4 separate regions of the Homo sapiens genome follow, and regions 1, 2 and 4 are each linked to region 3. Evidence: promoter capture Hi-C in 16 types of primary human blood cells and fetal thymus (Javierre and others, 2016). All regions are on one chromosome and are shown on one strand. The core of a region is centred on a gene start or on the middle of the fragment in contact, and the rest is flanking DNA. Distances in the headings are between cores, read along the strand shown. Region 1 has its middle 8.4 kb from the start of CLEC1B. Region 2 overlaps LOC102724020 (a long non-coding RNA gene). Region 3 holds the start of CLECL1 (C-type lectin like 1). Region 4 has its middle 2.5 kb from the start of CLEC12B.

The links. The method cuts DNA at HindIII sites, captures the fragments that hold promoters and counts their contacts. A CHiCAGO score of 5 or more calls a contact.
Region 1: a contact is called between a fragment that was not itself captured here and the fragment with the promoter of CLECL1 in region 3, in 1 of 17 cell types (monocytes). The highest score is 5.0, in monocytes.
Region 2: a fragment that was not itself captured here is called in contact with the fragment with the promoter of CLECL1 in region 3 in 3 of 17 cell types (megakaryocytes, M2 macrophages and M0 macrophages); the score reaches 6.7 in megakaryocytes.
Region 4: a contact is called between a fragment that was not itself captured here and the fragment with the promoter of CLECL1 in region 3, in 2 of 17 cell types (M1 macrophages and M2 macrophages). The highest score is 5.7, in M1 macrophages.

What each region holds. Positions count from the first base shown.
Region 1 is chr12:9,989,418-9,992,117 of GRCh38, reverse strand. It overlaps a transcript of CLEC12A not described here. Among named protein-coding and RNA genes, the nearest start is that of CLEC1B, 8.4 kb to the left of the region's middle. The HindIII fragment of the contact is 1,888 bases long and covers 423-2,310 here.
Region 2 is chr12:10,023,844-10,026,795 of GRCh38, reverse strand. All of the region lies in intron 2 of LOC102724020 (a long non-coding RNA gene), which reads left to right. Among named protein-coding and RNA genes, the nearest start is that of CLEC9A, 5.4 kb to the left of the region's middle. The HindIII fragment of the contact is 1,228 bases long and covers 876-2,103 here.
Region 3 is chr12:9,731,460-9,734,427 of GRCh38, reverse strand. It overlaps CLECL1 (C-type lectin like 1), which reads left to right and starts at 1,331. Exons shown (of 2, transcript NM_001441815.1): 1 at 1,331-1,479. The coding sequence starts at 1,398. The HindIII fragment of the contact is 6,540 bases long and covers 1-2,968 here.
Region 4 is chr12:10,006,684-10,009,647 of GRCh38, reverse strand. It overlaps a transcript of CLEC12B not described here. Among named protein-coding and RNA genes, the nearest start is that of CLEC12B, 2.5 kb to the left of the region's middle. The HindIII fragment of the contact is 1,472 bases long and covers 828-2,299 here.

The sequences.
Region 1 (2,700 bases), core at 117-2,616, 260 kb before region 3:
AAAAAATTGCATTTCTTTCCCACAGCTTCCCTTTTTTAACTAGTGGCTACCATTTACGAACATGATTCTCAAACATCTCAACGGAGGTTTTGGTTAAAACATAGAGAAACCAAATAGGAAACTCAAATGCTGATGTTACTCAGTGGGAAGACTGAGGAGACACAGAGACCTGGGTTTTTACCAGCATCACGACACAATTCTCATACAAGTAGTCTTTAATACAGTTAGAGAAATATCACTACTTTAGAACTTACTCTCTATCTGGCTTTGGATAAGTAATGTTCTCACCTTGAAATGGGTTTAATATTATTACCTTGCTCATAAGTTAATTGTGAAGCTCATTTAATATGATTATATAAAGTATCGATCAGAATACCAAGTATGTAATACATACTCAATAAATATGTGTTACTCTTAAAGCTTTGTGCGCTAACACTGAAAGACACTTGAATCTTTATCTTTTTTCTAGCCTATCAATAATTAAGCAGATTTGGAGGGCTTAGGAAAAATAATAGAAATACCTCAAATTTTACTTGTTACTTCAAATGTCTGGAGATCTTGGATTTGGGTGATGGTATCAGTATGTTTTTTATTTTGAATTGTCTATTTAGAGAAACTAAATAGGAACCAATAATTCAGAAAACTGTACAAAATTAGCAACTCAACTTTGTTTCATCTCCCTAAAATGGAAAAACATATGTGTATACATCCCTATAGCACACATAAACTTAGAAGAATAATATCTTAGTGCATGGCAACAATACAATTAAAAATGTAGGCCAATCACTGTGATTCTTTTTCTGGTATTCATATCTAAAGTATCTTATACATAAAATCAAAATAGCACAAACGTTAGTAGCACAGATCAGACCACCTCATTTCAAATACTAAATCTTCTACATGTCATCTAAGTGAACTCCAGCAAAATTTGACTTCTGTCTTCTTCAATTTAAAACTAACTTACAGGCATGCCTCGGAAATATTGTGGGTTCAGTTCCAGACCACCACAATAAAGCAATTATTGCAATAAAGTGAGTCACATTAATTATTTGCTTTCCCAATTCGTGTAAAAGTTATGTTTGAGCTACAACGTCTTCTATTAAGTATACAACAGCATTATGTCTGGAAAATGTACATAGTTTTATTAAAAATAGTTTATTGCTAAAAATGCTGATTATTTGAGTCTTTAGTGAGTGAAAATCTTTTTGCTGGTGTAGCGTCTTGCCTTGATGTTGATGGCTGCTGATGGATCACAGCAGTGGTTGCTGAAGGATGGGGTAGATGTGGCTATTTTTAAAATAAGACAATGGTGAAGTTTGTAGCATCAATTTAGTCTTCCTTTTATGAAATTTTTATCTGTAGAATGCGATGCTGTTAAATAGCATTTTACTCATCGTAAACTTCTTTCAAAATTGAAGTCAGTCCTCTCAAATCCTGCTACTGCTTTATCAACTAAGTTTATGCAATATTCAGAATACTTTATTAGCATTTCAACAATGTTCACAGCATGTTCACCAGGAATAATATTTGTCTCAAGAACCATTTTCTTTGCTCATCCATAAAAAGCAACTCCTCATTTGTTAAAGTTTCCTGATAAAATTGCATCAATTCAGCCACATCTTCAGGCTCCACTTCCAGTTCTAGTTCTCTTGCTATTTCCACCACATCTGCAGTTACTTCCACCACTGAAGTCTTGAACGCCTGCAAGTTATCCATGAGGGTTTGATTCAACTTCTTCCAAGTGTCTGTTAATGTTGACACTTTGTCTTCCTTCCATGAATCACAAATCTTTTTAATGGCATCTAGAATGGTAAGTTGTCTCCAGGTGGTTTTCAATTTACTTTGCTCTGATATATAAGAAGAATCAGTATCTGTGGGAGTTATAGCCTTATGATGTGTATTTCTTAAAGAATAAAACTTGAAAGTCAAAATTACTCCTTGATTTGTTGGTTGCAGAAAAGGATGCTGTGTTAGCAGGACTGAAAACATTAACCTCCCGGTACATGTCTATAAGAGCTCTTGGGTGACTAGGTGCATTGTCAATGAGCTGTAATATTTTGAAAAAAAGACCTTTTTTTTTTCTGAGCAGTGTTTCTCAACAATGGGCTTAAAATACTCAGTAAACAATGCTATAAACAAATGTGCTTTCATCTAGACGTCATTGTTTCATTCATAGAGCATTGGCAGGTACATTTAGCATAATTATTAAGGTCCCTAGGACGTTTGAAATGATAAAAGACTACTGGCTTTAACTTAAAGTCATCAGCTGCATTAGTCCCTAACAAGAGAGTCAGCTTGTCCTTTGAAGCTTTCAAGCCAGCCATTGACTTTTCCTCTCTAGGTATAAAAATCCTAGATGACATGTCTTTCCAATACAAAGCTGTTTCATCTAGACACCTTCAGCTATCTTAGCTATATCTTCTGGATAACTTGCTCCAGTTTCTACATCACAACTTGCTGCTTCATCTTTCATTTTTATGTTAGAGAGAAGGCTTCTTTCCTTAAACCTGATGAACCAACCTCTGCTAGCTTCCAACATTTCTTCTGTAGCTTCTTCACCTCTCTCACCCATCACAGAATTGACAAGAGTTAGGGCCTTGCTCTGGATTAGGCTTTGACTTAAGAGAACGTTGTGATTGGTTTCGTCTTGTATCCAGACCACCAAACTTTCTCCATATCAGCAATAAGGCTATCTTGTTT
Region 2 (2,952 bases), core at 240-2,739, 290 kb before region 3:
TGGAGATTCTGGGAGCTATAATTCAAGATGAGATTTGGATGGGGACACAGCCAAACCATATCAGCTATGCGAATCTATAATTTTCTCTTTTTAAATTTTTTATTTACTTTAAGTCCTGGGATACATGTGCAGAACCTGCAGGTTTGTTACATAGGTATACATGTGCCATGGTGGTTTGCTGCACCTATCAACCTGTCATCTAGGTTTTAAGCCCCGCATGCATTAGGTATTTGTCCTAATGCTCTCCCTCCCCTTGCCCCTCATCCCCTCAACAGGCCCCAGTGTGTGATGTTCCCCTCCCTGTGTCCATGTATTCTCATTGTTCAACTCCCACTTATGAGTGAGAATATGCAGTGTTTGCTTTTCAGTTCCTGTGTTAGTTTGCTGAGAATGATAGTTTCCAGCTTCGTCCATGTCCCTGCAAAGGACATGAACTTATTCTTTTTTATGGCTGCATAGTATTCCATGGTGTATATGTGCCACATTTTCTTTACCCAGTCTACCATTGGTGGACATTTGGGTTGGTTCCAAAGTTTTGCTATTGTAAATAGTGCTGCAATAATTTTCTCTTAAAGTCTGCTTTCTCTTCTAGCAAAAGAGCCAGAGGAAAAGCTATACTTATACTTCACCAGCCTCCAAAATTCCCAAAGTTAAGACACAGACTTAAGGACTGCCATAAGCTACATTTCTGTCAACTGAATTATAATCCTATTGTCTTCTAACAGGAATATAGGAAAGAAATAAAGATAAATGTTAATTCTGTAACATAGTCATGTAAACATAGCCTGCAACATATACAACTTTCTTTTGCTCCTATGATAAATTCAAATGTGCAATATACCACAAATGGGGGCCTAGATCTGAGGAATCAAGCTTTCATAGAGCAATAAAAGCGTTTATTTTGTTCATTTCTAACTAACAACCTAAAATATAAAGTTCTTAGAAACAAATAGTTTAAATTAATAAAATGAATATGCCACATTTTATTTTTATTCTATTCACATGTCAATGGACATTGAGGTTGCTTTCGTGTGTTGGCTATTGTGTACAGTGCTGCAATAAACATAGGAGTTCAGGCATCTCTTTGAAATTGCAATTTCAATTTCTTTGGATATATACCCAGTCATGGGATTGCTAGGTCATATGGTACATGCCATGGAATATTATTTAGCCTTAAAAAAGAAAGAAATCCTGCCATTGCAGCAACATGAATAAATACGGAGGATGTTATGCTAAGTGAAACAAGCCAGATACAGAAGGACAAATGCTGCATGATACCATTTATATGAGGAACTTCAAATAACCAAACTCATAGAAGCAGATAGTAGAATGGTGGTTGCCAGGGGTTACAGGAGAGGGAAATGAGGAGGTATTAGCCAAAGGGTAGAAAGTTCAGTTACACAAGATGAATAAGTCCTACAGATCTACTGTACAGCGTAGTGCCTATAGACAACAATACTATATTGTATATTTAGAATTTTCTAAGAGTGTAAATCTTACGTTGTGTTTTTATCACACAAAAATATTAACAATAAAGAGGGTGGGAGGACTTTTCAAGATAATGCCTATGTTTATGGTATACATTGTGGTGATGGTTTATTCATGTGTGTATACTTATCTACAAATATTAAGTTGCATATATTACGTATGTACAGCTTTTACATGTCAATTATACCCAATAAAGTGGTTTTTAAAGAAGAAATGTTTATGAATGAGGCAGGCAAGTAGGGATGGCATGCCTAGTGGCTTCAAATCAGTCAACATCAGACCAGCAACAGGGGCTATGGGGGGAGATAGCAATACATAAGGCAAGAAAATTGCTGAGGACGGATTTAATTAGGAAAAGTAATAAAATGTATACTTAAAACAAGATGACACCTGGGGTGGGGTCACCATTTATGGGAAGTGTCATTGCATACCATCTTCTGTGTTCTGATAGCATGCTGAAATCTATTATTTATTATATATAATAAATCTATATTCTGTTGCATTGCATTGTCTCACAGCTATGATTCTGTGAAAAGATAATAGGGCTCTGGCATGTATTGGACCTGGTTCAGAACCTAACTTCACCCTTTCCGGCTGTAAAACCTTAGCCAAGCTTTGTTCTAAATCAAGCTTTAGTTTCCACATGTATGGAATGATCTCAGATGAGATCACATATTGAATTTGTCAAGTTCCTGCCATGTTAGGGCCATCTTAAAAATTGTAGGCCCCTTTGCCCCTAGCTTTGAGCTTATTGTGGTTAAGGGTCCTGTCATGCTGATCTTCATATCTATCCCAAGGGTTTGCATATCGACTAGCACTTGGTTGACACACACACAAAATCTATTGTTAAATAAGTGAATAATTTGCAGCTGCCAGTCGCACCTGTCGAAATATCAGTTGTGCATTTGGTAGACCCAGATAAAGAGAGACCAGAAATCTGGTTTTCAGTCCAATTCACCTTCCTGGGACTCATTTCCCACCCTCCTTGATGCATTTTTTGGCTCTGTAAGTTTTGAGAGGTATTCCTTCCCAACTTGTCCTATTTAGACACAAAAGAGCTTCAAAATAAAGACAGAAACAATCAAATACTGTCTTCTTGCACTGGAAATTGAAGGTCAGTACTTGAAGAACAAGAGAGAATGGAGCCCCCTAGAAATTACTCTACTCAAAATACAACTTACAGATCATATGGGCTGGACAAGATTGGTGAAGCCAACATCAATTCACCCATAGAGAGTAATTTTTCTCAGAAACAAATTCTGTCTAGAAACAAAGAAAGCTGGAGAACTGAAAATAATGGCCTTGGTAACTATAACAGTAACAATTAGTGTTTCCCTACAATTTCCAGTGCTATGCTAAGGAATCAAAAAGGTGAAAGGGTCTGGACCCTATCCTTGTCCACCTCGTTTCTGGCCTCCACATCACAAAGGGCACAGAAGATACAAAAATAGTCCATGGGCAATA
Region 3 (2,968 bases), core at 82-2,581:
TAAAACCTCTAAAAGTCAGTTTTTCATGTATGTAGTAGGTATTGTCTAGTCACATACAAACAGTTGGAACAGCCCAGAAAAGGGAGAGAGTGTCATGCAGTCTTAAGAGACAGAGGTCGGTGCTCAAGCCTCATCCAGGGTCAGAAGTTGGTCTTTATAGGAGGGATCCCTAAATGCCACAAAGCCAGGATCTGTTCTCTAGTTATTTAATTAACCTAAGTTAAATTTCTTGGATGAGGGGTAGGGATGGGGTGACTGCAGTTTAGATTAATTCTGCAGAATGCACTTGAGTGGGTATTGAAAAAACCAGTTTTTCCATATGCAGATTTCCAGTTAATCTACTAGTCATAAGCTAATGGATCCTGCCATTTTTCATATCTGACATTTCTATGTCCTATGACGGTTTCACAGGTAGCTAGGCTCTCCTCCATTATTTCCCTCTGTATGGTGTTGGCTGCATTTTTCTCTGATTTTACTTCTTCATCAATGATCACATCTCCATCTACTCTCCATTTTCCAGGAATTAGTTGAAATTTTTCATCAACTAATAGGACCCTGAGCCTTTGTGTTATTGTTTTAGACTAACAAATTTTTATTCACTTAATTCAATTTTAGTGGAATTTTAGAAGAAATAGGAGATAAAATCTATGTTTGCTATGTTGTATTCGATAGTAAATTTCTGAACACCTCATTTTAAAATTAGATTTTTTTCTTTTATGTCATTACCTTGAATTATTTTAACAGAGTTATTTCTGTTTCTTAAATATATATTTTTTAGTTCAGAAGTCCTCTGCATAATTCATGTTTTACCTCAGTTTAATGTTAATATTATAAAGCATACAGGAAAGCAAATAGCTTTCAGAATTTTTAAGGTATTATCTAGACAATACAATGCATTTAGAGAGGAGGATAAAAGACATAGGGCCCCTTTCTGTAACTTTCGTAATAAAATCCCTTCTTTTTCTTGTTCTGTTTCCCAAATAGCTATCCTACTTTGGAGAAGATGCTGGAAATTCAGAGTTTCCGCCAGAGAATATATGCCTGAACTAAAAGAGGAAGTGGTCTATAGGAGAAAATGGTGAGATATCTTCTGTGGTATTAATAAAAGTTAAAAGCATTTCAAGTTTAGGCAGAAAACTAACTGAAAAACGAGAACCTACTGTATGGTTAGTAATTTCTTCCATGTCATACAAGTATTCGAGAAATCTGCTACCTTGATTAGTAAGACTGAACACATTGGTTTTGTCATTTATTCATGGAGGAAGTCCACCACCCACTTGGGGAGCAGAAGGAAATTTGCCATCTCAATTTACTTATCAGAAGTTTCTTTGCAGAAATATGATTGTCCCTTCAGTGGGACATCATTTGTGGTCTTCTCTCTCTTTTTGATCTGTGCAATGGCTGGAGATGTAGTCTACGCTGACATCAAAACTGTTCGGACTTCCCCGTTAGAACTCGCGTTTCCACTTCAGAGATCTGGTAAGCTGGATTTAGGGTGCCTTTGAGAATTAAGATTTTACTAGTTATCTCCTTTATTTCTTTCTTATGTATCTAATTGCCAAACTGAAAAGAGGAGATTGGATTCAAAGCAAAATTCATTGAATGCTAAGAATAAGAGCGAATGTTTTTAATGAAGCAAAATGTCTGTTCATAAAATAAATTGCCACTTTGGTTTTAATATGTAGAACTTTGCTTCTGTTTTCATAGCCTTTCTATTTCTTGATTTCTCGTGATGAATGTTTATATTCACACAGCAACTTCTAGCGGGATCACGCCTTTCTGCTCCACAGCTTTGCTCACTCTCAATCAAATCTGACCTTTTAACATAATGTGATAAATTCATCTCCACTGGGAAAAATACCTGTGGCAATTTACTCATATTGTTATTTATTCTTTTACAATATCAATAGGATAAAAATGTAAACTTAAGAAAACATGAAACGTTAGATTTAATTTTATAAAGTCTAGAATTAATGACTAGGTAATTGAATATTTCTGGAATCAGAGGCGATAAGCATATGCCTAAACTTAACATGGTGCCTTCATCACCAAACCCCCTCAAAAATTATAGATTTTCATAGCCAGTGTCTTTTCTATTCTTTGAAGTATTAAGGAAATTTCTCTGTCTTGTTACATTTCCATTCTCTGCTCTAGGGTAAGAATTTTTGTAGCATAGAGTTTATGTAGGTGTTTTAAATAATTTAAAGTTCCTCCTTTGTATTTGCCCTTGTGGAATGAATCTGCTACTTTGTTCGTATTTCCAAGGAATGTATTTCTTCTTTATATTTTCAAAAGTTTATAGTTATCAAAGGAATCTAGTGTGTGTCCTTTTCTGGTTGTAAAAGCATCTTGTTTCTTATTTTAAACCTTACCTCTCTATTTTACCCAGCAGAGGCTAACTTGCTTTCTTTTCTTCCAGCTTAGGCACTTTCACTTCCTATGAAATAGTGAAACATAATTTGAAAAATAACATGGACTAGAACTGCACTGTCATTCCCCTATGCTTCAAAAATGTCCTGTAGTTAGTTTCTTTTTCTAGAGGTTATTTTACTCAGTTTAAGCAACAAAACCAATATTTTTGATTCCGCATTCCAGGGTTTAATTGCCTTTCTGTCTATGGTTTGAACTTTTATAAATAAAACCTTATTCTTTTCCCAGTTTAGGGATGTGGGGCAACATCTTTTAATGTGATCTAGTTCAATCTTAGAATGCTAAAAATGAGAAAACGAACTATATGAAGATTAAATTACCTACCTATAGTCATGCTTATGACCAGAAGTCAAATATCATATTGTTCTTGTGCTGTATACGTGTGGTGTTAGATAAACGCAACTTTTGTTCTCATGCGTCACTTCGCCATCAAGCGAAAGAGCTGTTGGATAGATTAGATTTTTGTTGTCTTACATACAGAGTCCTACACAATTGTTCCTGATCTCTTCTAACCTCATACCTTTCACTGATTTTGCTC
Region 4 (2,964 bases), core at 314-2,813, 270 kb before region 3:
CTTTCTCTTTAGGAACGCTGTGCATGATCTCTAAACACCTAAATATACATATGTTACTTGTTCATGTTTTTTGTTTTTTTTTTTTTCAAATTGATGAAATAATCAAAAAAATGTTTGGAGGCTCTAAGTCATATATCAATAAAACTCCACTATCAAAAATATTGAAACAAATAATAAATCTATGCTTATGTTTACTATTCTAGTTGAATTCAGAAAAGGCAGAGACCATTGACATGAGGACCAGTTTAAATAGATGATTACAAAAATAAGAAATTAAGAATGGTTTTCTATCTCTGTTCTGGTCCGTGTCCGGAGTTGGTTCCTGCCGGTGGGTTCCTGGTCTCGCTGACTTCAAAAATGAAGCCGCGGACCTTTGCGGTGAGGGTTACACCTCTTAAAGATGGCACGGACCCAAAGACTGAGTGGTAGCAAGGTTTATTGTGAAGAGCAGGATGACAAACCTTCCACAGCATGGAAGGGGTCCCAAGCGGGTTGCTGCTGCTGGCTGGGGTGGCTAGCTTTTATTTCCTTACTGTCCCCTCCATGTTCCGTTTCTGTCGTATCAGACTGACCTTTTTTCAATCCTCACCGCAATTGGCTACTTTTAGAATCCTGCTGATTGGTGCGTTTTACAGAGCGCTGATCGGTGCGTTTTACGTGGCACTGATTGGTGCGTTTTACAATCCTCTTGTAAGACAGGAAAGTTCCCTGAGTCCCCACTCGATTCAGGAAGTCTGGCTGGCCTCACGTCTCATGACTTTCACCAGATTTTGCAAAAACTGGGTTTTCATCCTCATTTCCTTAATTCTTTCACATACCTTAAAGCTTCCTAACAAAGTATTAACTTCTCACTATCCATGAAATGATGCTTAGCTTGAACAATGATGAAGAATGTCACCTGATTCCTAATTATTTCTAAGAGAAGATTGATAACACTTCTCACATACTTTCTATTATTATGATCCAAAAAGCTATATCATCTATCATTATTAGTGTATGATCATATTAATTTAGACATTTCTTTATATACTTTTCTCCCTTAAAAACTTACAGCATTTCTGTAGCTTATTTTATCAGTTACACTATTTAAAAACTCACTTTGTTGCAGTCATTTACCAAATTCTCCTTATTTCTTCATTATTTTTTCAACTATCTTAAATCTTATTGATCTCTACTCCTATCATGATTATCATGTGATTTCGACATTCAGGTAGGTGATAATTCCAATACTATGGGCTCTCAGTTCTTGAATTTGCCTCCAATAACCTTACCCACACTCAGAAATCAGTTGCTCACACACAAAAATCAGTCACCCACTAGATGATCCTAGTTTAGAGCTAGGCTATTCACCGTAGTAATCACTAGGCATATAATTGCTATTTAAACTTAAATTAATTAAAATTAAATTAAATTTAAAATTTATTTCCTAGGTCACACTAGTCATACTTCAGGTACTTAACAGCCACAGGTGGCATTGGCTATGCAATTGGACAGTGCAGGTAAATAACATTTCCATTATTAGCAACGTGGCTATTGAACAGCACTGCACTAGAGTGCAGACAATTTCATTTCCAATATGAGAAATTCTTCCATGATCTGTTTCAGATATTTCACTCTCTGACCTCCACCTCCTATGTTTCCAGCCCACTCTCTCTGGGTATTCTACACTCTACAGCATTTCAGTGCCCACTGAGATAGCAACTTCACTGACCATGCCAACTTCTCATTGTTGTCAATCCCTCATGTCTCATTTCCTATTATACCCAGCATGCACCACTTACCAGGGCCAATTATAAAAATCGTTTTCTTACCCACAGCTACAACTTCCTTGCTTACCTCTTCATTCATCATAAGCATCTAGAAAATGCAGCTTGTTTAAATCCAACCCTACCTACTCTGTGCATACATTCAAGTAGCTGAATGTGATCATATTAACTGGTTTTATCTTACGTTTTTGAAATGTAACTTCTCAGCACTCTTACTAATCAATCTGTTCTGCAAATCTCCTAAAAGATTATTCCCAATCTCTTTTTCTTTCTCAGACTCTCAAATTTCTTTCTGTCTTCTCTTTCTACAAACTAAACGGATAACCTGGCTTTTCCATTAACATTATCTTAAGAAAAAAAAGAAATTCAGAAAGAAGTTTTCTCTGTTTCACTAGTCAAATATACCAAAACAGCTACATCAGTATATGAGGTAGTATTCTTTTCAACAGTGGTTGAATTGTACTACTCATCTAAGATCAATCTCCATCTGTATATTAAAATCCATCCACCTATCTCCTTAAAGATTTCAAGCTTGTAATTTTCCTTCTTTTTCTCTTTCTATCAATTTTTCCATTTTTTTCATCTCTACTTGTTCACTTATGTTCACTTCCAAAGATGATATAATATCTCCTATATTAAAACAAGCAGAAGCCATCTTTTGTTCACCGTAACACCATACACATGATCACTCCATTTCTCTAATTTTCTTAACAACAAATGGGTTCAAAAATTTCTCTATGATCTTCCCAAACCTATTCTAATTAGGCTTTTTCCTTCACTATTTCTTTTTTTTCTTTTTTTATTTTTATTCTTTCTTTTTTTTTATTGAGACAGAGTCTAGCTCTGTTGCCCAGGCTGGAGTGCAGTGGCGCGATCTCGGCTCACTGCAAGCTCCGCCTCCCAGGTTCATGCCATTCCCCTGCCTCAGCCTCCAGAGTAACTGGGACTACAGGCGCCTGCCACCCCGCCCGGCTAATTTTTTGTATTTTTAGTAGAGACGGGGTTTCACCGTGTTAGCCAGGATGGTCTCGATCTCCTGACCTCGTGATCTGTCCCCCTCGGCCTCCCAAAGTGCTGAGATTACAGGCGTGAGCCACCACGCCTGGCCCTTCTTTCACTATTTCTAAAAAACACTCCTGCTAAAGTCAACATTACCTCAGTATAAACACATCCAATGGCTAGTTCTCAGGATTCATCT